2 separate regions of the Homo sapiens genome follow, and region 1 is linked to region 2. Evidence: promoter capture Hi-C in human tissues and cell types (Jung and others, 2019). All regions are on one chromosome and are shown on one strand. Each heading gives the region's core, a stretch centred on a gene start or on the middle of the fragment in contact. The rest is flanking DNA. Distances are from core to core; before and after follow the strand shown. Region 1 overlaps NSD1 (nuclear receptor binding SET domain protein 1). Region 2 holds the start of MXD3 (MAX dimerization protein 3).

Region 1 (6,624 bases), core at 1,681-4,180, 100 kb before region 2:
AGTTTGAGACCAGCCTGGCCAATATGGTGAAACCCCTATTCTACTGAAAATACAAAAAATTAGCTGGGTGTGGTGGCGGGTGCCTGTAATCCCAGCTACTCGGGAGGCTGAGGAAGGAGAATCACTTGAACCCGGGAGGCAGAGGTTGTGGTGAGCGAAGATTGTGCCACTGCACTCCAGCCTGGGCGACAGAGCAAGACTCTGTCTCAAAAAAAAAAAAAAAAGGAATAAAAAAAAAAGCTTCTGATTTCATCTCCCTTTTCCCCCACCCATTTCTTTGATAAGTGATAATTCTTTTTCTCCTTTAAATTTAAGGTTCCTCAGAAAATTTTGAGTAAATGGGAAGCCAGTGTTGGACTTGCAGAACAGTATGATGTTCCCAAGGGGTCAAAGAACCGAAAATGTATTCCTGGTTCAATCAAGTTGGACAGTGAAGAAGATATGCCATTTGAAGACTGCACAAATGATCCTGAGTCAGAACATGACCTGTTGCTTAATGGCTGTTTGAAATCACTGGCTTTTGATTCTGAACATTCTGCAGATGAGAAGGAAAAGCCTTGCGCTAAATCTCGAGCCAGAAAGAGCTCTGATAATCCAAAAAGGACTAGTGTGAAAAAGGGCCACATACAATTTGAAGCACATAAAGATGAACGGAGGGGAAAGATTCCAGAGAACCTTGGCCTAAACTTTATCTCTGGGGATATATCTGATACGCAGGCCTCTAATGAACTTTCCAGGATAGCAAATAGCCTCACAGGGTCCAACACTGCCCCAGGAAGTTTTCTGTTTTCTTCCTGTGGAAAAAACACTGCAAAGAAAGAATTTGAGACTTCAAATGGTGACTCTTTATTGGGCTTGCCTGAGGGTGCTTTGATCTCAAAGTGTTCTCGAGAGAAGAATAAACCCCAACGAAGCCTGGTGTGTGGTTCAAAAGTGAAGCTCTGCTATATTGGAGCAGGTGATGAGGAAAAGCGAAGTGATTCCATTAGTATCTGTACCACTTCTGATGATGGAAGCAGTGACCTGGATCCCATAGAACACAGCTCAGAGTCTGATAACAGTGTCCTTGAAATTCCAGATGCTTTCGATAGAACAGAGAACATGTTATCTATGCAGAAAAATGAAAAGATAAAGTATTCTAGGTTTGCTGCCACAAACACTAGGGTAAAAGCAAAACAGAAGCCTCTCATTAGTAACTCACATACAGACCACTTAATGGGTTGTACTAAGAGTGCAGAGCCTGGAACCGAGACGTCTCAGGTTAATCTCTCTGATCTGAAGGCATCTACTCTTGTTCACAAACCCCAGTCAGATTTTACAAATGATGCTCTCTCTCCAAAATTCAACCTGTCATCAAGCATATCCAGTGAGAACTCGTTAATAAAGGGTGGGGCAGCAAATCAAGCTCTATTACATTCGAAAAGCAAACAGCCCAAGTTCCGAAGTATAAAGTGCAAACACAAAGAAAATCCAGTTATGGCAGAACCCCCAGTTATAAATGAGGAGTGCAGTTTGAAATGCTGCTCTTCTGATACCAAAGGCTCTCCTTTGGCCAGCATTTCTAAAAGTGGGAAAGTGGATGGTCTAAAACTACTGAACAATATGCATGAGAAAACCAGGGATTCAAGTGACATAGAAACAGCAGTGGTGAAACATGTTTTATCCGAGTTGAAGGAACTCTCTTACAGATCCTTAGGTGAGGATGTCAGTGACTCTGGAACATCAAAGCCATCAAAACCATTACTTTTCTCTTCTGCTTCTAGTCAGAATCACATACCTATTGAACCAGACTACAAATTCAGTACATTGCTAATGATGTTGAAAGATATGCATGATAGTAAGACGAAGGAGCAGCGGTTGATGACTGCTCAAAACCTGGTCTCTTACCGGAGTCCTGGTCGTGGGGACTGTTCTACTAATAGTCCTGTAGGAGTCTCTAAGGTTTTGGTTTCAGGAGGCTCCACACACAATTCAGAGAAAAAGGGAGATGGCACTCAGAACTCCGCCAATCCTAGCCCTAGTGGGGGTGACTCTGCATTATCTGGCGAGTTGTCTGCTTCCCTACCTGGCTTACTGTCCGACAAGAGAGACCTCCCTGCTTCTGGTAAAAGTCGTTCAGACTGTGTTACTAGGCGCAACTGTGGACGATCAAAGCCTTCATCCAAATTGCGAGATGCTTTTTCAGCCCAAATGGTAAAGAACACAGTGAACCGTAAAGCCTTAAAGACCGAGCGCAAAAGAAAACTGAATCAGCTTCCAAGTGTGACTCTTGATGCTGTACTGCAGGGAGACCGAGAACGTGGAGGTTCATTGAGAGGTGGGGCAGAAGATCCTAGTAAAGAGGATCCCCTTCAGATAATGGGCCACTTAACAAGTGAAGATGGTGACCATTTTTCTGATGTGCATTTCGATAGCAAGGTTAAGCAATCTGATCCTGGTAAAATTTCTGAAAAAGGACTCTCTTTTGAAAACGGAAAAGGCCCAGAGCTGGACTCTGTAATGAACAGTGAGAATGATGAACTCAATGGTGTAAATCAAGTGGTGCCTAAAAAGCGGTGGCAGCGTTTAAACCAAAGGCGCACTAAACCTCGTAAGCGCATGAACAGATTTAAAGAGAAAGAAAACTCTGAGTGTGCCTTTAGGGTCTTACTTCCTAGTGACCCTGTGCAGGAGGGGCGGGATGAGTTTCCAGAGCATAGAACTCCTTCAGCAAGCATACTTGAGGAACCACTGACAGAGCAAAATCATGCTGACTGCTTAGATTCAGCTGGGCCACGGTTAAATGTTTGTGATAAATCCAGTGCCAGCATTGGTGACATGGAAAAGGAGCCAGGAATTCCCAGTTTGACACCACAGGCTGAGCTCCCTGAACCAGGTAAGGACATCTAAATGTGATAAAAAAAAAAAAATTGGAGAAAGTGCTGATAAACATTGTCCTTCTGAAATTGGTCTGTTGTAATGGTAAAGTGAAGTATAAACTAGCGGGGAAGAATCATCACTTCAATGAAGAAGGAGTTTTATGTAGAAAGGTCTGAATTTTGAAGATGAGATTTCCATATATATTCAAAAGTTAAACTTTACCAGAAGCCCTTTTCCCCAACCTTTTCAAGTAAATCTCTATAACATCTTTCTTTCTCACTTTCTCTCTCTCTCTTTCTCTCTCTCTCTTTTTTTTTTTTTTCTAATTTTTTTTTTCTTTTGAGACAGGGTCTCACTGTGTTGCCCAGGCTGGTCTCAAACTCCTGAGTTCACGCCATCTGCCAGCCTTTGCCTCCTAAAGTGCTGGGATTACTCTTGCCTGACCTGTTCCCCGTTTCTTACCTTTTAAAATCCCCAAGCTTTTTGGGACTCAATATGTAACTGCAAGTAATTGAGAGGCTCCGATCCTAGGATTTAAATCCAGTTGTTAGGTTATAGAAAGCAAATAGATTCTATTGGATGGTAGTTTCTTTTTTTTTTCTTAAGGCACCCGCCACCATACCTGGTAATTTTTGTATTTTTAGTAGAGATGAGGGTTCACCACGTTGGCCAGGCTGGTCTTGAACTGAACTCAAGTGATCCGCCCACCAAAAGTGCTGGGATACAGGCGTGAGCCACTGCATCTGGCTGGATGTTAGGTTTTCTTTGACCATTACTTAAGATAGGTCCTTCTGTTTTGTGGACAATTTGATGAACCACATGCGCTTTTGAAAAAACTGCAAGTATTCTGTAGTACTTATTTGAAGGTCTTAGGTGTCTTAAATTCCTACTGGAATGAGGATTATGAACAAATAAAAATACCAGAAGTACCCAAGTGTTGTACCTAGCAGCAGATGGAAAACAGAAATCTTTCAAGATACTAACATTACACAGTATACAGTTGAGGATAAAGCAGTGTGTGTATACATGTATATACATATTTTTTTCTTTTTTACAGCAATATCCATTAACATAAGATTCTCAAAACTGTGTATCATAGTAGATTTTTCTCTAACAGCTTTATTGAAAATGCAGTTATCATATCATAAAATTCAGCTTTTAACGTTTTTAATTGAGTGGTTTGTAGTATAGTCACAGAGTTGTGCAACAATCAGTGCGATCAATTGTGGAATATTTGCATCATCCCAGACAGAAACACAGAACTCTTGTCAATCTGCCTTCAGGTTTTTTTTTCTTTTTTTTTCTTGAGACGGAGTCTCGCTCTGTTACCCAGGCTGGAGTGCCGTGGCGTGATCTCGGCTCACTGCAGGCTCCGCCTCCCGGGTTCACGCCATTCTCCTGCCTCAGCCTCCTGAGTAGCTGGGACTACAGGCGCCCGCCACCACACCCAGCTAATTTTTTTTTGTATTTTTAGTAGAGACGGGGTTTCACTGTGTTAGCCAGGATGGTCTCTGATCTCCTGACCTTGTGATCCGCCCGCCTCCACCTCCCAAAGTGCTGGGATTACAGGCGTGAGCCACTGTGCCCAGCCCTGCCTTCAGTTTTTACCAATCTGTAGATTTGTCTATTGTGTACATTTCATAGAAATGGAATCATACAATATATGGTCCTTTTGGGTCTGGTTTCCCTTACTTAGTTTAATGTTTTCTGGTTCATGCCTCTTGTAGTATGTATCAGTTCTTCTGTCTTCTTCTAAAATTATGGTTAAAAAGCATGTAACCTAAATGTACCTTTTTTGGTTTTTTTTTTGAGATAGGGTCTGGCTCTGTTGCCCAGGCTAGAGTGAGATTTACTCTTTAACGGTATTTACGGCCAGGTGCGGTGGCTCACGCCTGTAATTCCAGCACTCTGGGAGGCCAAGGCTGATGGATCACCTGAGGTCAGGAGTTCAAGACCAGCCTGGCCAACATGGCAAAACCCCATCTCTACTAAAAATACAAAAATTAGCTGGGCATGGTGGCGCGCTCCTGTAATACCAGCCACTCGGGAGGCTGAGGTAGGAGAATCACTTGAACCCGGGAGGTGGAGGTTGCAGTGAGTGGAGGTTGCAGTGAGCTGAGATTGCGCCACTGCACTCCAGCCTGGGAGACAGAGCGAAACCCCATTTCAAAATAAACAAACAAAAAAACAGTATTTAAGTGTGTATTATAGTGTCATGAATCATGTACATGTACAACAGCAGATCTCCAGGACATTTTCGTTTTGCTTGACTGAGACTCTATACCCATTGAACAACAACTCCTGATTTTCTCCTTTGTTCAATCCATGACAACTAACATTCTTTCTGCTTCTGTGAATTTGATTACTTTAGACATCTCATGTAAGTGGAATCATGCAGTATTTGTTGTTTTGTGATTGGGTTATTTCACATTTCACTTAGCATAATGTTTTCAAGGTTCATCCATGTTGTAGCATATGACAGGATCACCTTTTTTTTTTTTTTTTTGAGACAGAGTCTTACTGTGTCACCCAGGCTGGAGTGCAGTGGCGTGATCTCAGCTCACTGCATCCTCTGCCTCGTGGGTTCTCGGCTCACTGCAGCCTCTGCCTCGTGGGTTCAAGCAATTCTCCTGCCTCAGCCTCCTAAGTAGCTTGGACTACAGGCACATGCCACCATGCCTGGCTAATTTGTTTTGTATTTTTAGTAGAGACAGGGTGTCACCATGTTCCCCAGAATGGTCTCGATCTCCTGACCTCGTGATCCACCCGCCTTGGCCTCCCAAAGTGCTGGGATTAAAAGCATGAGCCACCACGCCCTGCCGATAACCTTTTTTTATGGCTGAATAATATTCCAACATACTTTTTCTTTTCCATACTAAAGCATCTTTTCTTTATCAGTTCATTGGTTGATGGACATTTAGATTGCTTCCACATCTTGACTATTGTGAGTAATGCTACAGTGAACATGGATATGCAGATATCTCTGAGATCTGGTTTTCAATTTTTTTTTTTTTTTTGAGATGGAGTTTCGCTCTTGTTGCCCAGGCCGGAGTGCAATGGCACAATCTCAGTTCACTGTAACCTCTGCCTCCTGGGCTCAAGCAATTCTGCCTCAGCCTTTCAAGTAGCTGGGATTACAGGCATATACCACCACGCCTAGCTAACTTTGTATTTTTAGTAGAGATGGGGTTTCACCATGTTGGCCAGGCTGGTGTCGAACTCCTGACCTCAGGTGGTCTGCCTGCTTCGGCCTCCCAAAGTGCTGGGATTACAGGCATGAGCAACTGCACCCAGTGATGTTCATTTCTTTTGGATAAATACCTAGAATGGCATTGGTGGAACATAGGGTAATTCTACTTTTATTTTTATTTTTTTTTGAGACAAGGGTCTCCCTCTGTCACCCAGGCTGGAGTATAATGATGCGATCTCAAGTCACTGCAACCTCTGCCTCCTGGGCTCAAGCAATTCTTGTGCCCCAGCCTCCCAAGTAGCTGGGATTACAGTGGTTTTGCCATGTTAGCCAGGCTGGTCTCAAATTCCTGACCTTAAGTGATCCTCCTGCTTCGGCCTCCCAAAGTGTTGGGATTATAGGTGTGAGCCACCGCACCCGGCCTACTTTTAATTTGATGAACCTCTATAGTGTTTTGCATAATTGCTGCATCATTTTATAAGTCCTTTGTCCATATACATATGTTTTTAATGATACTGGGCCTCTTTGTCACCTAGGGTGGAATACAGTGGTGCAGTTATAGCTCACTGCAGCCT
Region 2 (6,606 bases), core at 1,432-3,931:
AGGGGCCACTGGTGGGTTTTCAGCAGGAGATGGGCCTGGGTAGATAGGTGTGCTGCAGAGATCATTCTAGAGCAAAGTAGAAGACAGCCTGGTGGAGGCAAAACAGGTAACAGGAAGGCTGGGAGGAGGCCGGTGAATTAATCCAGGAGAGGGGTGATGGAGCCCCAGAGAAGGAGCACTGCCCAGGTCCTGCCCACAGGCCAGCCAGCCCCTGAGGGGCACACATCATCCATCCGAGAACCAGGCCAGGCAAGCTCCGTGTGAGAAACTGGGCCACTACCCAACCAGAGTGTTACTCAGCCACAATGATGGTAATAACAGACGCCGGGCGGCAGTGCAGCTGTTCCCGCAGCTGTGGTTTATTTACTAACAGCGCATAGGTCTTTGTGTGCCACAGCCCCCAGTGCCTAGAATAGGGCCTAGCAGAACCAGTGCTCAGTAAACACTTGTCAGAGGAGATAACGCAAGCCAGGGAACTGGGCATGGGTCCTGAATCTGCCGCCCATCAGCTGTGCAACTTGTTGGCCCTCAGCCTAGCTGTGCCTTCATGTATTCCTCTAGAGGGCAGGAAAAGTCCTGTGGTTTCCAAGGCCACTTCTGACATGGCCAGGGCCACCTGGGCCTTTATTCAGCACATCCACTCCTGTCCACCAGGGGGCACTGAGCTCAGCCCCAGCAGCAGCAGGAGCCCTGGGAGGACCAGTGACTGGCGTCTTCTCAGTCCTTTCCCCTCCTGTCCCTGGAGCTGCCTCCCAGGTGGCACCAGGATAGACTGCCCATAACAGGAGGCCTTGAAGGTGAGAGGGGGAGAGCAAGGACCAACCCTCTACAGTCCCAAGGACCCCCACATACATCCCATCACAGAATTCAACAGCCATCCCCTCCCCTCAAACAGGAGGGAAGGTTAGTCCAGACAGGCTAAGTAACCTGCCCAAGGTCTCACAGCTGTGATCTAAGTGATAACAGCTGTAACAGCAACAGTGAACATTTATAGAGTGAACTCATTTAAGCCTCAACAACCCTCTGAGTTATTGTCTGCTTTTCTTCCCATTTAATGGATCTGGAAAGTAAAAGCTCAGAGAGCTGTCCTAAGTCACACAGTTCTTGAGCTCTGACCTCAGGTCTCGTTCCCCAGTCCCACCAGCCCCTCCATAGCACAGCCCTCCATACACCAGGGCAAGCCAGTCCGGGCGCAGTGGGGGGCCTCACCTGGATGTGCATCCTGGCACGGCGCAGCAGGCTCAGCGTGGTGTACCGGGCACAGTCGGCCCCCAGGGGCATCTGCTGCTTCAGCCGCTCCAGGCACCGCTTCAACTGGGCCCTCCTGTGGGGAAGAGGTCTGGAGGGCAGTGCCAGCCCCACCTTGCCGGCCACAGGAATGGCAGGGGAGGGAAGGCCAGAGGGCAGTGGCCCCTGGGGGCTGGCGCTGTCAGGGCAGGACTGGGACTCACCTGCGCTTCTCCAGTTCATTGTGCACTGACCTGCCAATGCCAGAGAGGATGAGGTGAAGGGGAATCAGCTACTGCCCATGCCCCAATCCCAGGGCCCCCAGTGGCTCAAGAGCCACTACAGATGTCTGCCCCAAACAAGTCCCCTGTGGAGAGCTCATGCTGGCCTCAGACACCAGAGTCCCCTGGCAGGGCGAGGGGAGTCAAAGACACACGGAGCCAAATGCTTAACAGAAGCCTGCCCAGGTGGGTATGAGGGCCCTAACAAGGGCGCCTGCCAGCTGGCCAGAAAGGACCTCCCAGAGGTGACAGCTAACTGCGGAAACAGATGTTTCCCAAGCCGGTACTGGAGGGAGGGGCATTCAAATAGGAGGGAACAGCATATGCAAAGGGCTGGGGAGAGGAGAGAAGAGGAGGAAGCCAGCGGGGGAGGTGAGTGGCCTGATGTGTGGGGTGCGGGAGTGCGAGTGGAAGCGGGACCCCAACTGCTGTTGGCAGTTCCCGGCACATCTAGAGGTGCTCAAGAAATAGTCCTTGAATGAATAGAAAGGTGTGAGTGTGTTTGGAGAGTGGGGAGATGGCAGGAGGGGTCTGAACGCTTCCTGGAGCGGGACACCTGGCCCAAAAGATGCAAGCAACAAGTGGGCAGAGGAGGGCCCGACCAGGGGCGGCGCCCACCCCCACCCCCACTCCCGCCGCCCCCGGCCTCCTCACCGCCCGCTGTCCTGCGCGCCAGGAGCCTGGGGGGGTCGCTTCTTCCTCCTGTGGATGGGGCCTGGACTGCGATGCGGGCACAGGGACGCATAACCATGCTCGGCCTCTGCCAGAGAGAGTCCCCGCCCGCGTCAGGCTGGGGCTGGACCTGGTCCCAGCGGCAGCCCCAGGCACAGCACGGTCAAGGAAAGGCTTTTGGCGCCAGGACCATTTCCCCCACCCGTCCCTGCTCTACCGCCCCGGGACTCCTCTCGAGTTGAGGGCGAGGCGCCCCGGGATTACTGTCCTAGGGCGGTGCATCCTTCAAGCTGGGAGCCAGGTCCAGTCCAGGCCCGTGTCAGCGAGGTCGCCGCCCGGAATTCAGCCAAGGGTCCTTCCTCACCTCTCTCACGGCGCTCCAGGAACTCGGCCGCCTGCAGCAGGACCTGGATGTTGCTGGCCAAGGGTTCCATGTCGGCGACAGCTGGCGGCGGGCCGGCCTAGGGTGCCGGCCGGAGCAAGCGGCTGCAGCACTTTTGTTACAAAGTAACTGACACGGTGCAACAAACACAGGGGCCCGCCCCGCCCCCGGGACGCCCCGCCCGCGGGAACGCCCAGCCCTTGGCTCCGCCCCTCTGGAACCCGCCACGGAGCCGCAGCCCACCCTCCGGCAGCCGCCCCGCCCCGAGTGGTCTCAGACTTTCCAGGGGCAGGTAAGGGCGCTGGCTCCAGGCCTGGCCCTGGAGCGAACCCTCAGGCTAACCGGTGCTGCTTCTTGCCCGCCTCACTCATCCACCCACGCCGGCTCATTGGCGTCTTTGATCTCAGCTTCCAGCCCCGTGCTAGTGACTAGCCCCCAACATAGCACGGCGCTCTGGGGGCCTGGTGGTCCCCTGAAAGCGCCGGGCCCAGCCGCTGCACGTGGGTGCCGCGGGGGCGGGGCCTCCGGCCGCCGCTCGCCCATTCGCACATGGCTTCTCAAGGATCGCTGTTGTCATCCTCGGGGCGGGGTCGGGGAGCCTCTGATGCCCTATTGGCTGGCGCTCTGCCCCGCCCTCTCCCGCCGCTGATCCACACGTTCGGGCGGGAAAAGAAGCAGGTTTCAAATTTGAAAACCCAAGCGATGGGGCGGGGTTGAGAGGGGAGCTGGGCCTCAATGCGCAGGCGCCGGCGGAGGGGCGGCGGACCCGGCTCCTGCCCTCCGGGGTCTGTCCCCAAGCCTGCCTGCCATCTGCCCCCGAAGGCCCCCGTGGGCCCCAGCTTCCTACTGTGTCGAATGGGAATAATATCTCGGCCCCCCTCCTCTTCTGTGAGGAAGCTGTTGTTGCTACGAAAACGTCAGTGGGGTAACAGCTTCCTCAGGCAGGCCATACCCTGGAGGCACGCGAAATGGCCTTTTCCGGGGCCTTGGGCTCTGGTATCCACGCAGTTGGGGTCCTCTCCTGTCACTGATGTCTCAGCTGTGTATGACTCAGGAGGTGACCTCCGTCTCTAAGCCTCAGGAGCCCTGCGACAGCGTTGAAGGATCAGAGCCAATGCCTCTGCGGTGCCCATGGCATGAAGGAGCCGCCCATCTCAAAGGCCAGTGCAACCAGACCGCGGCGTTTGCCTCCCAGGCAGCCCCTGCTTGCCTTACTCAGAGTCCATAAACCCTTCTTGCACCTGACTCTCCTAGCCGGCCGAAGGAGTGGCTGTGATGACTTCTAGCCTCAGCACCAGCAGGTGGGGCCACATCTGGGGACAGGAAGATGAACGCAGCTGTAGCAGGGTGGAGCATTGCTGCCAGCCACGGGCTGAGTCTGTGACTCCAGTAATCCCAAAATAGAGAGGGGAGGGAAGGTGGGAGGGATAGATGCTCTGTAAAGAGACAGTCCTGGTAAACACAAGCACATGTCAGTCAGGCCTCAGTTCCTTGGGAAAAATCTTTTTTTTTTTTTTGAGTCTTGCTCTGTTGCCCAGGCTGAAGCGCAATGGCTCAGTCTCGACTCACTGCAACCTCCGCCTCCCGGGTTCAAGCAATTCTCCTGCCTCAGCCTCCCAAGTAGCTGAGACTACAAGCGCCCACCACCACACCCAGCTAATTTTTGTATTTTTAGTAGAGACGGGGTTTCACCGTGTTGGCCAGGCTGGTCTCGAACTCCTGACCTCAGGTGATCCACCCACCTCAGCCTCCCAAAGTGCTGGGATTACAGGTGTGAGCCACCGTTCCTGGCCGGGAAACATCTTGAAGTTTCGGCCAGGCGCCGAAAAAAAATGAAGTTTCTCTAAGAGTTGCTCACAGCGGAATAACTGCCCTGTCTAGGCAGACGATCCATCTACCCAGCCGCCTGTCCTTAACTCACAAAGTATTTGCTGAGCTCTCACTGGACACCAGGCGCTGTGCTGGGGGCTGGAGGACATACGATAGGCAAAATCATACAGGGTCCCTGCCCTTGCAGAGCTCATAGGCTTGAGAGGGAAAGACACCAATACAGTCGCAGGAAGGCGGAGGTCCAGCTGGACAGGTCCTCACAGGGAGAGACCATGCCCCACAACACATTCTAAGGAACATTTGACCTAATTGGTGAGGCCAGAGAAGGCTTTACTGGGGAAATGGATGAAGAGGTGTTATCTAAGTATAGGAGAGATGAAAGAATTCTAGACAAAGGAACAGCACATGCAAAGGCCCTGGGGCTGAAAGGAGCATGGCAGGGGCGGTGTGGCTTACAGAGAGCAAATAGCCTGGTGCAGGCTGACACTGGAGAGGCTGCAGGGCCCAGAACATGCTGATGGGTTCCCCCAAACTCCCCCCTGCAATCAGCCATCTCTGAAGGAAGGAGCCGCAAGGGTTGTGAATGAATTTCCAATTTTATTTCACTAAAGTCAGCACCATGCAGTGCAGACACGAACCTACTCAGATGTCTGGGCCCTAGGTGGCCTGGCCTCCAGTCTGGGTGGGATAGGGGTGGGGAGGTTCTGAAGGAGGAGAATTTTCAGCAAAGGGAAAGAAGGAAGCATATGTGAGCTGAAGACATGGCCAGGAGGTGGTGGGAGTCGGGGTGGGGCTGCAGAGGGGCTGGAGGGCTCATGTCAAGGAGTTTGGACTTCATCCTAGGAGCTGCAGAGCGGTTTTGAGCCAGGGACAGCATGTGGGCTGGGGTCAAGGCCACCGGCCAGGCCAGACAGGAACAATACCTCCCCAGGAACAGGATGGGACGGGGCATGGGGGGATCCAGCCTGGACCAGCAGGGATCCTGCCCCAAGCCCTTGGATGTCCCCTGGGCCCCTGTGAGAAAATGCTAGAGCTAGTGGCCTCTAGGCACAGGACTGGACAGAGGAGCTGCAGTGCCCCCCCAGCAGTGACCAGCCCAGATCCTCTGCCCTGGAGTCCGCAGGGTCCTGCGCTTCGCCCTGTGACCTCCTGCCTCCACCAGCCCACTGTAACTGGGGTTCTGCTGCCTGTACTTGCAGTGCAGACTCTACCCGGGTCTATGGTCCTCTGGGCTCCAAGGACAGAGTCTGCATCTGTGCCCTGAGTGGAAGGGGAGAAGGGAGACCCCCCCGCCCCAGGCCTTTGTCCCAGTTAGGACCCCTTGAAGAGGGGAGCCAATCCTGGGCTCACCGTCCTCCTCCACTCCATGGACACTCCATGGTGCAGGAGGAGATGGCCCTGCGTTCCCCAGATCCCTTTCCCCTTCTCCCCTGCAAGGAAGAGTCATCGGGGGAGTCGGGAGCCTGGCTCCGACCCTGGAACCCTGCCCAGCCTCCTCCCTGGGCTGCCCGCAGCCTCCCCTCTCCCAGAGAGCAGCACTCCCCAGTCACAGAGCTAACCAGGTCACGCCCCCACTGAAGGCCTCATGCCCCCGCTGAAGGCCCACGCTCCCATGGCCTTCAGGACAAAGTTTGAGCTGGGCAGGGGACATGCCATGGCCTTGCCCACCTCCCTGCCTCTGCCATCTCTGCTCAATGTCACTTGCTCCAGGAGGTTCCCAGGCCTCCCTCCTTCAGCGCATTCTCCCAAGTAGCAGTGGGCCCTGCATCTCTCAGGGTCAGCCTCTTCCTGCAGACTACGACCTCAGCGACAGAGCAAACCAATGCCGAACAGGGGCTTGGCCAAGCCATAGGCAAGGGGTAGGGAAGGGCTGGTGGGCCTGTGTCTCCATGCCCATAGGATGTCAGAAGAAGCAGTCAGCAGACCCCCACACAGAGGCCACCTCTGGAACGCACCCCCCCCCCCCGCCAACCCCAGCTGTTGTGGCAGTGCAGCATAATGATCAGGAGTTGGGTGCCAGCCGGTCCCTCGCTTGGTGTCACAGGGGCTAAGCCAAGAGGCCAGCCCTGGCTAGACAGGTCTCAGAAGTGCCTGGCAGCCCCTGCTATCCGGGGAGGAACACTGCAAACAGGCCTCTGTAGGCTCAGTAGTATGGCCATTTTTTTTTTTTTTTTTTTTGAGGTGGGGTCTTCTGCTGTCACCCAGCTGGAGTGC

What was found. The method cuts DNA at HindIII sites, captures the fragments that hold promoters and counts their contacts. A contact is called where the count stands out against the background at its distance.
Region 1: a contact is called between a fragment that was not itself captured here and the fragment with the promoter of MXD3 in region 2, in 2 of the 25 tissues and cell types used here (bladder and pancreas).

What each region holds. Positions count from the first base shown.
Region 1 is chr5:177,209,321-177,215,944 of GRCh38, forward strand. NSD1 (nuclear receptor binding SET domain protein 1) reads left to right here. Exons shown (of 23, transcript NM_022455.5): 5 at 316-2,875. Among named protein-coding and RNA genes, the nearest start is that of NSD1, 79 kb to the left of the region's middle. The HindIII fragment of the contact is 5,708 bases long and covers 77-5,784 here.
Region 2 is chr5:177,309,217-177,315,822 of GRCh38, forward strand. MXD3 (MAX dimerization protein 3) reads right to left here and starts at 2,682. Exons shown (of 6, transcript NM_031300.4): 1 at 2,545-2,682; 2 at 2,163-2,268; 3 at 1,452-1,481; 4 at 1,210-1,324. The coding sequence starts at 2,614. RefSeq lists enhancers at 347-416, 487-536, 783-1,649, 1,907-2,106, 3,757-3,816 and silencers at 2,657-2,836, 2,967-3,536. The HindIII fragment of the contact is 13,092 bases long and covers 1-6,606 here.